2 separate regions of the Homo sapiens genome follow, and region 2 is linked to region 1. Evidence: promoter capture Hi-C in human tissues and cell types (Jung and others, 2019). All regions are on one chromosome and are shown on one strand. Each heading gives the region's core, a stretch centred on a gene start or on the middle of the fragment in contact. The rest is flanking DNA. Distances are from core to core; before and after follow the strand shown. Region 1 holds the start of GAP43 (growth associated protein 43). Region 2 has its middle 220 kb from the start of GAP43.

What was found. Contacts are between HindIII fragments. The study calls those that stand out against the background at their distance.
Region 2: a contact is called between a fragment that was not itself captured here and the fragment with the promoter of GAP43 in region 1, in 2 of the 25 tissues and cell types used here (dorsolateral prefrontal cortex and thymus).

The regions. Positions count from the first base shown.
Region 1 is chr3:115,622,128-115,629,342 of GRCh38, forward strand. It overlaps GAP43 (growth associated protein 43), which reads left to right and starts at 1,383. Exons shown (of 3, transcript NM_002045.4): 1 at 1,383-1,592. The coding sequence starts at 1,563. The HindIII fragment of the contact is 4,830 bases long and covers 1-3,044 here.
Region 2 is chr3:115,401,125-115,407,802 of GRCh38, forward strand. No RefSeq gene overlaps it. Among named protein-coding and RNA genes, the nearest start is that of GAP43, 220 kb to the right of the region's middle. The HindIII fragment of the contact is 4,378 bases long and covers 1,285-5,662 here.

The DNA.
Region 1 (7,215 bases), core at 133-2,632:
GCTGTTTAATTAGGGGTACTTGTCATCACTAATGAACAACAAGAAATAGTTTGAAAACTTCTTTGAGATATTCACTTGCAAATGTCACCCGAATTTCAGAAAAGTACAGTCTCTGGAGTAAAGCTATTATACACTCAGAGAGACTGTTGTGCTTTGCATGCGTTATATCATTTAGTCCTCAAAACATGTTGTCAAGATTGGCATTATTATCTCCATTTTAAAGATGAGAAAATTAGGTGCAAAGAGCTTCAGTAACACACTCAAACTCATTCAACAATAAATAACTAAAAATTGTGCTATACACACTTTAAGAGTCACATGTTCCTCCCCCAAAATTATGAAAGGCCATAGAAGGAATTCAAGAAGTAGGCTTCATGACTTATCGTTTCTTCTCATCTCAGATGAATTCACTTTAATCTCTCATGCCCAAATTGTAAAATATCATTTTGATCACCGTCAATATTACACAGACCTGTTTGAATGTGCTCAGCTTTTTCAGTAAAATTAGAAGAAACCACAATTTACAAACAGGTATATGTGCATTAAGGAAAAAACAAAAAACTACCATGTGATTTTAGATATGGATGCCAATTCTTAAACATTGTTTATTATTTCTGAGCTCAAGTGCTTAGAATGTTTAAAATGCAATATATTTATGTGGATTTTTTTCCAGGATATTGGAACATATATAAAATATGCTTGTGCATATCTAAGCTTTGTATTTATTTCAGGTTATATGTATACTGAGAAGAATATATAAACAGTGTATGATATTTACATGTTATTTCATTTTTTGAGGGAAATTAACCTCCACAATTATTAACTATGCATAAAATGTAATGGCAGATATGACTTATATTGTATAGGACTGACTACAATTCCTCTTTAGAAATAGCTGTTCTTTGCTTTTATAATACTAGGAAAAGAGGAAAAGAGTTCTTAAAGAAATACAAGGATTCCTCAAGCCCCTCTTCCCTAAAACATGCTCTATCATATCTCCTGGATTGACTGGAATATCCTTCTCTGCCCCCACCCCATCACCCTCTCAATGCAGTGGAAAAGTCGGTGGGTAATTGGGTCCAGATTGGAGGTGTTTAAATATTCATGAGGCTGGCAGGGGACTGGGAGGGGGCGACTGTCTAGAATGGGGGTAGGGGCTGGGGGAAGTGATTAGTCACTGAAGGCTAGAGAACAATTCCGAGAAAGAGACGGAGAGAGAGGGAAGAAAAAGACAGATAGATAGATATTGGGGGGAAGGAGAAAAAAGGAGAAGAGAGGGAAGAGAGGACAGCGGAGAGAGAGCACCAGAGAGAGAGGGAGAGAGAGAGAGAGCGCTAGAGAGAGGGAGCGAGCATGTGCGATGAGCAATAGCTGTGGACCTTACAGTTGCTGCTAACTGCCCTGGTGTGTGTGAGGGAGAGAGAGGGAGGGAGGGAGAGAGAGCGCGCTAGCGCGAGAGAGCGAGTGAGCAAGCGAGCAGAAAAGAGGTGGAGAGGGGGGGAATAAGAAAGAGAGAGAAGGAAAGGAGAGAAGGCAGGAAGAAGGCAAGGGACGAGACAACCATGCTGTGCTGTATGAGAAGAACCAAACAGGTAGAGCTAAAGATTTTTTACTTCTTGCTGTTGTGAAATAACCCGAGTACAGTATTTCCCCGTAAAGGCAAACAATTTTTTTACTGCTTCTGCTCTGGCCGTGGTGCTCGCGCTTCCTTAGCATATGGTAACTGATGGTTGCATCCCAGCTTTTATTCTTTTCTGTCTTTCATGCTCTGGTTTTGGAATGCTGCTACTAATTAGGGTGAGGGTAGAAAAAACATGCCTGTTTGGCTAGAAATAATTTTTTTTTTTCTTATTAGTGAATGCTCAGCATTTGAGGTCTCTGGTCTTGAGGGTGTGGACGTAGAAAGGGGTGTGGGGGAGATGATGTGGGCTCTACCTACAAGATGGGGAGGCATTTCTTTATATTATTTGCAAAAAAGCAGGGTTGAGGAAATAATATTCAGAACTGAGTATTGCCTCTCTGTCATACAATTTTCTCACATGTGCTGCGGAAGATGCCTTATTTCGTGCATGCATGAGCTTCGAAGGGGCGCAGGTATTTATGGAAAAACGTGCAGGTCTTATTTATTTAGTATTTATTTTTCAATGAATGAATGAAACTGTGATTTGATAGATTTTTTTTTTTTTTAAGAGAAGCTAAGACAACTGGGGCTGGGGGAGAAATTGGCCATGCAGAAGGAGAAAATCCCCTTCCTAAGATCAGCAGCCGATTGTGCACCAGCTGGTCGGAGGAGAGGGTGGACCACGCCCCTAGGAGCTCCGATGGGATGGGAAAGACAGCCGGGTATTACCTGTTGGAAACCAGGTCTTTTCTCTTATCCCCTTCCCTTGCTTCTTTCCTGGGATTGTCAGTGACCAGAGACAGGCTAACATCCTGGATAATAAGTATGGTGACTCATTTTCATCAGGAAGAGGGACACATCCAAGATTAGCAAGAATCAGAGCCCCTCCTTCCCTCCCCCACTGCCCAGGTTTTACAGCCATTTCCAATTGCTCGCTTATTTCTTGAAAGACATTTTAGAAACTTGATTGGGGTGAGAGTGGGAAGGAATGACGAGTGTGGTATTCCGCAGCAACCGACCATGCCATGGCAGTCTCCAAAAGAAGCTTTCAAACATTTGTTGGAATGCATTTGAGTGATTTTGGCAAAGGTTAAAGAGAAAAATGGGTGTGGGATACGGGTGAGTGTGTGCGTATGCTTGACTGTGGTGGGGGTGGGGGTGTGGTGGGGGCAATCTTGGTCAAAGAAGCCCTTCGCAGACTGATTGCCTTAGGGGTGGGGTGCAAGAGATGGAATTTGGGTATAATTTCCAGTGCAGGTATTGGAAATTGGGCAATTTGTAATACACTCCCTGAATCCGAAGGGGGTGGAAGAGAGTGGAGAAGAAACAGCCTGCCAGCTTAGCACATTTAGCCAGCGCCCTGGAAGGAAGGGTGGGGAGTGAGGATGAAGGAGAAGGAGCAGGAAGAGGATGGGAGACTGAAGCAGAATGTCAGAGCAGTGGGAGTAGAGATTTGGCATAAATAAATAAATAAATAAATAAGCAGACATCCTGGATTGTGTGGGGCTATTTGGGGGAAAAAGTCGGATAGTGGGGGATTGAGTTGGGGGCGGTATTTGCAGCATCTCCTGAAACTGCCCTATGGTTACAGAGATTGATGCTTCCATTGGCTCATTTTATCAAACCAGGGCATTTTCTCTCTGTGTCCTCCTTCATTTTAATATATAAATGTAATAAATACAGGTGTCTGGGTTAAGAACACTGTCAAAGAAAAGTCCTGAGGTTATTTCACTGGTGAGCTGGGGAAATAACATTTAGGAAGGTGGAGCACTAAGTAAGCCAAAGCCATCCACTTAAAAAGCTTTAATTTTGGAAAGAAAAATATTCAGGTTCATAATTTGTTCCCACCCTATGTGTACATATGCAAGTATACATACATCTCCTTTAATAAAGGAAATCATGTATGATTTTTAGAAAAGGAATTAGGGCTAAAGGAATTCCCTTCCCAAAATGAAGACAGCTGCCTTCCCTGGGGCTCTATCTCACCAACAGCCCCAAGCATTCACTCTGATGTGCAAAGTGATGAAGCTGAAATTGTGTTTAGAGTTGTAGAAATTCGCATGTAAATGTATACAGCATCCACATACTTCATATGCTACAGTTGCATGTGTAAGTGGTTTCCACATGCCTCTCTGTGTTTTAGCATCATTTATATTCAAGAGAAAATTAAAGGTATAGAAATTGTCCTACTTTGCTCATGCATTTTATAAATGTGTACTTCTGTGTGAAATGGTCATGTCTCTTATAAACCACTGTTGTGTATCATTCACATTAGCCAGTATTTAGGATACCATTCAATCAGACTAAAGGAAATGGTGTATTCAGGGCGTGGGCTCACACTACACTGACTGGCATTTATGTAGCATGAGTACTTAAGTCTCACGCAGGTTGCCTGCTTGTGGATGAAATTCTGTATCATTTATGACAAAATCCAGTGGTGCCCATCCTTCTGCTGGCATCTATTCATCATCGTAGTACTTAACAGGGAATAAAACAAGGGCAAAAACCTGCAAAGGTCTAAGCTCTGCCACACCCATAAAATCCAGCAGAAACGTGGGAGGGGGGCTGAAGGGCTTGCACTTCCTTCCTCTTCCACTTGAGCGGCATAAAGAAGCAACCTTGGATTTCTAAGTTGGAATACATTGCCAGTGGGTGAGAAGAAAGCATAAATGATCTCTATTAGCCATTAGTTATCACTATAGATTATTATAGCAGGAAGAAGAGAATGAGAGTGGGGTAGAGATGAGAATATGGTAAAGGAGTGGGCAAAGGAGGAATAAAATAAAATAATCCCTAATATTGTATTGCCTTATGATTTTCAAATATCTTGGGGCTTACTTTAAATAGCTTAATTGCCATGTGTATTGCAGATGATTAAAAACTTGGCAAGGTGTGATTTATGTCTACAAAGCAAGAAAACTATGAGGTGTTTCTTTTGTTGAAAAATAATGACTTTAGTTTGTAATTGAAGTGTAAAGAATTTCATGCAAGCAAGTAGTCCCTCTACTCCCCAGCCCCCCATCCATGCCAATATCTGCTTTTTTCCTCATGCAACAAATAAATCTTATCTCTGAGAGTGTGATCTGTGGTTTAAAATTCCGACCTCTCTGCCTTTCCTTGCAGTGTTGGGAAGGTGTGGAAGGATGCTGCCTTGCTGCTTGGTGCAGGCGATTCTTCCTAGTGATAAATTGGATTCCTCCCAAATCTCTCTGAGCCACACCCAGTGTCACTCAGGGACTTAGTGAATTAATTAAGCTGAGCCATTTTACTTAATATAATTGAAGCTTCTCGTTCTTTTTTTTTTTTTTAATAGTGATTTTCACCACAGGTTTCCAAATTTAAACAGAAAAAATATTTGAAGGGCATTTTCTTTCTTTTTTCTTTCTTTTTTTTTTTTTTTTGCCAAATTATCTGGACTTGCAGAGAACCTTAGAAAATTCATGGTGAGTCTAGAAAGTGTTCATTTCTGGTGACTCTATAATTCCTTCTAACCCATGCCAGGGCGCATACACAATGAGCCCTGATCTCTCCTGCTGACAGAGTCTGTGTAACTCTCTTCCCCACCCCCTCCCCTACCAACCCATGCTGAGGCAACTGGAATAAGAAAATGCAGAGTTAATTTTCTTTCTTGCTGAGCTGGCAAAACTACAGAAACCTCCTTTGATGTTTCAAGCTAAAGGGCAGTACTCCTGTTCACCGAGAGGGAGAGTGGCTTGGGGTCTCCTTTGCCTCTGTCATAGTGAAATTGCCAGTGTTATTCCTGGGGCTGAATTAATCCACAGACTTCAGAATTTTACCTGGCCCCATAAGGAAGGGTACTGGTGTTCTTTCAGGCAAGAATAGAGCATATATATTAACCAATCGTATTGATAAAGTAAGACAAGTCTTCCTCTATTAATAGTTCAAAGAATGCACATAACCAGGTCATCTCAAGAGAAGGTATAGCAGCATTTAACTATTCACTTCCCTATTAGTATTAATAAAGGCATTAGGGCAACCAAGCAGTGGCTGTTGCAAACCAAAGAAGTGATTTCATACAGGAATTCTCCCTTTTCAATTTGTGAAGTGTGGTCAGGTGGCTTTTGTACCTTTGTAATTAAATCTTCATAACATTTTCAGAAGTGTTGGGAAGAATATTATACTGTGAGTCCTTAGTGGAGGCCACTTACTGACTGTGAGCTTTAATAAACCACATCACCTTGGGTTTCAGTTTCCTTCTGTAGAATGAAGAGTAAAAACCAAAAACCAGACACAAATGAACACTTTGCTTACCTTAAGGATTTTTGTAGGGCTTAAACATACTTGATGTGAAAATAAAGATCAATATAAGAAATTTTTATTCTCCCCAAGTTTTGCAATTTGAGGCTTGTCTTAGAGGCCCCAGTTTTGCAGGATGATCTAGTGCCTGCTGTGTCTACCTTTCCCTGTTAGAGATGAGTTCCTTCTAGTCTTAGTTGAGCCTTCTGCTTGTGCTCTTGCTCCTCCCCCCGTGTTTTCCCCAGAGCCCCAGTCCCTCATGCCCTGCTCTTTCTTGAGATTTCATCTTCTTGTGCTGCACTGGCTCCTTTCCTTATAGTTTATGAATATGCTTTTGCCTCATCTATCTTAAAAGATTCTCTCCTGACTCTATGTCCCCATCTCTATAGTTCTCTGTCTCACTCTCCCTTTAGAACAAAGTTCCAAGTACTCTCCACCCTCATTTTCTCCTCTTCTTCACTCCCCATTCACTATTCCATCTAGTTTAATTTGGCTTTGATTTTCATAATTTCACTGAAAAACATATTCTGAAAGGGTGTCACATCCAGTGACCCTTCATTTTACATCTTATTTGATGTCTCTTTGGCATTTTGTGTTGTTGTCAATCCCTGTTCCTGAAACTGTCCCCTTACTGGGTCTGCATGATATTAATAGCTCTCCTTATTCTCCCTCTCAGATAAGACCCTGCTCAGTCTCCTTATAGGCTTCTCTTGCTCTCTTCACCCACCTCCCCAAATCTATGATCTCCTGGATCATAATCTTCATTCATTCCACTCTTCTCGTTTGACTCACTAATCCTAGGTGATCTCATCAGGTCATCCACATCCAAATCTTTAGCCACCTGTGTGATTTCCAGATCTGTAGATCAGATGTCTGTTTTTAGCTTCTGATCCATAGTTATCTTGGTCTAAGTGCTTCATTTCAGAGACAAGTTTGTTAGGTACAAAACCCAACTCAGTGTCTTCTGTTGTGTATCACACTTGATCTTCCTCACTACAATTATTGCTCTGATACTGTCCATCCAGCCTCAGAGCTCTAGGAACCTGAGAGTAATCCTGAATGTATTTTATTTCAACTCCCATATCCAGTTTCTAAATCCTTTGATTCCTTGATTCTTGTTTAAAAGATTGAATAAATCCTCTGCTTTTCTACCCTGTTTATATAAATAACCTGGCACAGACTTTTCATGACTACTCATCTGGACAAAAGCAGTAACTTTCTATGTGGAGTTCTACCACCACATTGTTCTTTAGTTTACCTTGCAAATAACACCACAGCTATCTTTACAAAATGCAAATCGGGTTTTGTTATTTTCTTTGTTAAAATATAAACTCTTC
Region 2 (6,678 bases), core at 2,224-4,723, 220 kb before region 1:
AGCACTGTGCATGCAGGAAGACCACCCTAAGGGAAGAATCTTGGGAAAGCGGCAAGCCTATAAAGTCCTAGGATCAAGCTTAAAGCCCCGACTTTTTTTTTTTTTTTTTTTTTGCTTCTTTTTCTGTCTTTGACCTTCGGGTGCCCACTTGGATCTCTTCCAAGGGTTCTTTTCTTTCTTTCCTATTCTAAAGACTTTTTAATAAACTTCCATTCCTGCTCTGAAACTTATCTCAGTCTCTTTTTCTGAGATAAAATTCAGAAAAAGAATTTTCTGAATTTCTGAGATAAAAGAATTTCTCAGCTGAATTCTTTTTTCTGAGGAGGCAAGGACTGAAGTTGCTACAGACCCAGACAAATATGCAGCCAGTAACTTGGGATAACGCGATCTCTTCCAGCCATAACAAAGTGACTAAGCACAGTGCCTGACTGCAAAGAACTCTTAGTTTAGTTAGGGAGAAAAAGGATAATCATAATCCATGTGGTCACAAAAATCAAGATCCATACAAGGTATTATGGGAATACATAGGAAAAATCATAAGATTTATTACAAGAAGAAAAGTTGTCATGCCCTGTTTATAAGCTAAGAAGAACAGTAAGTGTCTCCACTTTTCTTCATCTCCTCCTTGGAGCCTTCGTTGTTAATCTTCCTGGCCTTCTCTGTGTCTTAACTCAGGATCTGAATTATGATCATTTTGCCTAGGATGAGGATGATAATTCATAGAAATTATTTGAAGCACTTTAAAGTTTGTGTTTAACTACAGCAGGCCCTCCAGGATCCCAGCACAGATCCTGTTGAATCCGTCTTAAGATATTTTCCAACTCAAATGTATCATCAAAAATGGAGGTTGGCCCAACCAAGCTGATGTATCTGTTTATTTATATTAATGAAGAATAGGAAACCAGCAGTATTTCAAAATATTACTCATATCTGCTTTTGAAAATAAACCAGAAACCATGGTAGGAGGATTTTTTTTTTATTGAATGATTTCTTGCTCTTTGACTTTGTAAGCTGATGTAGAGTGTTACATTCTTCTTCAAGTGTGCACAAAGACCTTTTGTTTTTCTGGGAAAATATCATTGTGTAATAGAAAAATATTGGATTATGAGTCAGGAGACCTGGAGTTTGGTTTTAGCTCTGCCATTAACTATGAAAGTGATCTTGGGTAAATTACTTAAATTCAGAATATTCTCTATTAAATGAAGTGGTTGGATAAAATGCTCCCTAAGTTCCCTTCCAGCCCCAATAGTCTTTGTTCCTCTGTGAGTCACCATGAGGGTGTTCAGTGAATGCATGTGGTTGACAAGAGAGGCATGTCACATAAAAAATTCATATAAGGATATGTCATAGGATGGTTTCCTGGGAAGCAAGCTCTGAGATGAAGATTAACAAGCAGGTAGTTTATTAGGAAGTGCTTCTGGGGTCAGTCCCTATGAAATAGAAGGGAATGAAGCAGGATTGAGCAGAGGAACAAGTAAAGCTATGACACAGTCTCAGTGGAAGACACAGTTGAATCTTCAGAGGTGTCCTGAGCTGGGAAAGTGGGCTGGGCTTTAATACCTTTGTGTGGAGCAGTTATTGGATGAAACCTGGAATGAAGTGGCTCTCTTTAGCTTAAGGAATCTCCAATGGAGGCTGACAATTAAGGGCTTTATTCAGTATAACTTCCAACAGCTGGAAGAATACATCCTTCATTCCTGAAGGATAATAATTGGTTTCTACCACAGGATGTCTGTGTGCTGTCATACTCTATTGGGCATCAGTGGAATGTATGTGAAAACAACACAGTGTTCATGCTCATAAAATGTTTATTTGGCCATCTATCCATCCATCCATCCATCTGTCCATCTATCCATCCATTCTTTTATGACCATTTTTTCCTTTTTGGTGATCATAGAACTGAGTTGGTGATTTCTCTTACTAGCAAAAAGGAATCCTTGGTTAAGGAAGGAGATGAATTTATTAATTCCCTTCCAATCTGAAGCTCCCTTTATTCTACAAACCAAAGAAAATGACTGAGGCAAGTCTCAATCAATTTAGAGGTTTATTTTGCTAAAATTGAGGATGTGCCTGGAAAAAAGTGACACAAGCCACAGTAGTATCTGGGGCTCACGCTTTTTACCAAGAGGATTTTCAGGACTTCAATATTTAAAGGGTAAAGATCCGGCAGGAGGGAAAAAGGGAAAGGGAAAAAAAGGGAGGGTGGGTTGTGAGATAAGTGGTCACATTCCTGTGAGGCTTTGATTAGCACTCACTGAATCAACATGTTACATGTGAAAGGAGTGAGTAGAAGAACAGTCAATTACACATTTGTCCTGGGTGGGTGGAAGGATGATTCCTTGTCTTTGTCCCAGACCTGTGAAGATAAGCTGTTAATTTACATTGTCAGGGTGAAGGAGGCCACCCAGGAAGACATGTTGCCTTCTACCTTGTAGCTGTCTGTTTAGGTACAAAAGAAAAGGCAATTTTTTGCATGACTCAGTTTCCAAGCTTAACTTTTCCCATTGGCATAGTGAATTTGGGGTCCCAAGATTTTATTTTCCTTTCACAATTCTACAATGCTATACCAATTAACAATAGTAAATGTCAGTTGAAGACTGTTGACTGTGGTTTGTGTAGTGTTTTTAAACGTGATTTTGTTTGATTCTCACAACTAGCTTATGCAGTTGGCTAAGCTTGTATTAAGTCTTACTGCAGAGATGAGGAGCCTGAGGGTCAGTTTAGTAAGTTGTCCAAAGTCATGGAGTCAGGATGAGATGAAAGGTAGACTTCGAGTCCAGGTCTGTTGCTTTCTGGTCCAGGATTGTCCATTATGTCAGAGTCAGCAGGAGCTTAAGGGCTATCTTGGAGCAGCTGATAAAATCCAGGCCTGAGGCAGCCTGTCTTCCTGGAGAGTCGTTTCTCAGCTGAAGCTGAGCCATTAGACAGCACTGACTTCTGGGGCAGGGGGCCTATGGCCTCTCCCAGTGTTTCAATTCTTTACATTTCAGCCTCCTGGAGCTCACTAAGCCTGTGCATAATCCTGTGTATATACCATCAGTGGACCCCCTGAACTTGGTAATTTTATACACACAGTAGCAGAGGTTGTTCTATCTGACTTAATGAACAGGAAAAGTCTTGGCAGGTGAATGTAATGTTTCACCATACTATAGGCCAGTGCTTCTCAAACCTTAACTTGCATTTTAATCACCTGGAAATCTTGTTAAAATGCAGACCCTGGTTCAATATGTCCAGGGTGGGGCCTGAGATTCTTCATTTTAAGCAAGTGCCCAGGTGATGCCAATACTGTCGGCTCATGGACCAGTTTCCCACTCTCCCAGGGTCAGAAACGCACAATCTTTCACAAAGGGAACTCAAGATTGGCCCTTGCTTTAAAGGCTAAGTGGAGCCAATGATCTGAAAGAAACAGGTCATAACTACAGTGTAGTTACACTTTCTCATCTCTTCCACCACTTCCTAACTTCCACCTTTTCCAAGGAAGAAAAGAAAGAAGGAGGGTGGCAAAGAAGGGAGAAAGGAATAAAAGAACGAGAAGGAAGGAAAAAATAATACCAGATAGGCAATATAGTATGTGGTCAGAACCAAGCTATAGCTGTATATGATGCTAATAGCATGTGTCCAACACTGGTTTGGAACCTCTCTTATTTAGCAGGGTCAGCATCATCCATTTTGTGAAAGAGGACAGGAAACCATATACATGAAATTGCTGCAGACTGGCAATGAGAGTAAAGGCAGCCCTTAGGGTTAGAAGTCCAGAAGAAAGCCTTGTGATCTGGTTAAACCAGCTGCATTGAGCAGGCTGTGGCTGGGTATTTATACAACCAAGAGCCCCTTGCTGCAGTCTCTGTGGTACTGATTTACTCCTTGATGGTGTCTGTACTGTAGAATATGGCTTCATTTTCTGGCTTCTCAGGCTAGTGGAGGGGGTGGGTGGAAACAGATGCTTTTGAAGTGATTTCCCTGCGAAATCATTCAGATTGCTTGTTCCTAAGGGGCATAAAATATTTTCTGAGTTTTCACTGTATAGTTTCCCTAAGCAATAGAAGAAGAGGGCAGAGAATGAAGGCAGGAAACAGCTTTAGTTAGTAATACATACTGGGTGGGGGAGGGGTACTTTTTCCTACAAGGCAAGCTCTCTAAATATGAGGAGAAGACATAAGAAAATCAGGGTCTGCTCGCAGAGGAAAAACTGTCGATGCAGTGGTGGAATATCCATGTGAATGGAATACTTAAAACAGGCATGGCCAAAGCCCCATGAGGTATTCTGTGCACTACAGGGCAGTTGTCAGTCATCCACTGCTTCCTGTCTCCATCCTGGTATCAGAGTGGTGGTACTGGGCTAGGTGGGATAAATGCTGACAGCCACTGTCCATGTTCTCAGCGGGGTGTGTGTGTGTGTGTGTGTGTGTGTGTGTGTGTGTTTGTGGTGGGGGAAGGGCGATGTATAAGGCTTTCCAGGAGCATGTGTCCCTGGAGACTTGGGGGAGAGCTGAGTTCAGGCCCTGGCGCCAGCCTTCCAGAGGGAAATCAGAAACATGATAATTAGGCATCTCCTCCCTCAGGCAAATGGAGAAGAGTTTGCTTTTCCTTAATGCCAGCCTGCAGAGATGAAAACCAGAAGGAAACGGCGGGATTTGCCTGCCATCCAGCTCAGGATTCCTAAAGCCCATGGTGAGAAGGTGCTGCTCTGAGTGTCAGTCACACATGCCATGAGCTGTTGACTTGAGCATCCTGGTCTCTTTTTCATGAAACTTTTCTGACCCACTTATTTGAATGATTTATCACAAATAAATCATATTTGATTCTTAAACATTGAAAACTGTTGCTTTCTGAGAAGATGGCACAGCATAAGACAGGGAGATATACAGAATAGGGATGTGTAATTTTACTTAAAGGAAATCTCCATGGGACTGGAAATAGCTTAAAGCTTAAAATAGCCTATTTTGCAAGAGCATTTGCAGTTTTTTAATTGATTTGCATTTGTAATTCTATTGAGTTCTACAACAGGCCTTGAGGCAGGCATTGTGATGGCCATTTCACAGATGACAAGACAGATTCTGAAAGACCTTGACTTGTCCAAGGTCAGATGATTAGTAAGTGGCAGATTTGAAACTCAATAAACCGTGTTCTGCTGCCTTCCACTGTGCTGTGACAGCTATCTAAAATTCTATATTATTTTCCAGATGGCAACCTTACCTGCTTCAGGGATCTATTTTACTATTTCCTGTAGAACATAGACTTTCATCCTCTTTGCAATTCTTGGCAGTATTCTTACTTAGCATTTCACTTGATATATTAAAGACCAACATTTCCCCTAGTTGATGATAAGAGAGTGACGGAGAAACAGGTTGTCCTACCTGTCCTCCTACCCACTGTGATTTTAGAGGAAGAGCAGGGTGTCTGCTTTGCACCATTGTTGCAGAGGTGATGTTAGATACCAGCTTTCACCACATTCTGGTAGAAAGCAAGTGGGAGATGGTAGAGAGGAGTAGGTATTGATGTAGGCTTTGGATTCAGACCTCAGTATGAGTGCCAGCCTTGCCACTGCTTATTTAATCTTTTGAGGCCTCAATTTACCCATTTCTGAAACAGGGGTAGCAATGCCTCTCTGTAAGGGTTAAGGTAAAGAATACATGTGAGGGGGGTCAGTAGAGTAAATGGTCCCAGAATGTTAGTGCCTGCTATTTTTAGGTGCATAGATTTTGCAGTGGAACCCTTGAAAAGAGATTGCCTTTGAAAGACTTGCAAAAATTCAAAATAATTTTGATGCAATTCAACTGAAAGGCCTTTACTTTCAGCTCTGTGATTCTCTGAGTCTAGGAAATACTGCTAAAATGTAAGCCTCTTAAGAGCTAAAGCTATGTCTCATGGACCTTTGTATTCCTCACAGTTGCCAAGCACAGAGCCTTATGTTGAAAACGTACTCAGTGAATTCCAGTTTAGTAGGGTGGGATGGATATAGGGAGTGAGTGTGTATGAAGGATGAGAAGATGGGGGTAAAGCTAAAGGCAAAGCTATTAAGGACCCAAAGACCTTGAATTATTGTGGTCCTCTTCTTTCTCCTGTACTTTTACCAGAGTACATTGTCAACAGAGTACATTGTCCACTCTCATGTTTATTGTCTTCGGTACAATAAACTCTGCTTTACTAAAGATGTGAGTGTCTAGATTCACAAATAAAGGGATAACCTAAACAGACTGAACTTCCAACTTTTTCAGCTTTGCAGATTATATAAAGATTAAACATTTCTGAATACACTGCTCTGCTATTCTTGGTTTACATCTTTTTCTTCTTGAGTATTCACAGAGCCTACATTCTCACCCATCTTGTCCTTCTTTTCTCAGTAGACCATCCTGGGCTTTCTGGGGTTCCATGGCCATGGCCATGATCATGAAAAGCTTCACCTTTTACCCAGCAGTGGTCTTTAGCTTCAATTGAACTCTCCCTCTCAAGTCCCTCCTAAAAGACTCCTCTTTTATGAACTGTCTTTTGAAATCCCCACTTCTGTGGATCAGCTGAAGTCAGGAGTTCAAGACCAGCCTGGCCAACATGGTGAAACCCCACCTCTACTAAAAATACAAAAACTAGCTGGGCGTGGTGGTAGGAGCCTGTAATCCCAGCTACTCAGGAGGCTGAGGCAGGAGAATCGCTTGAACCCGGGAGATGGAGTTTGCAGTG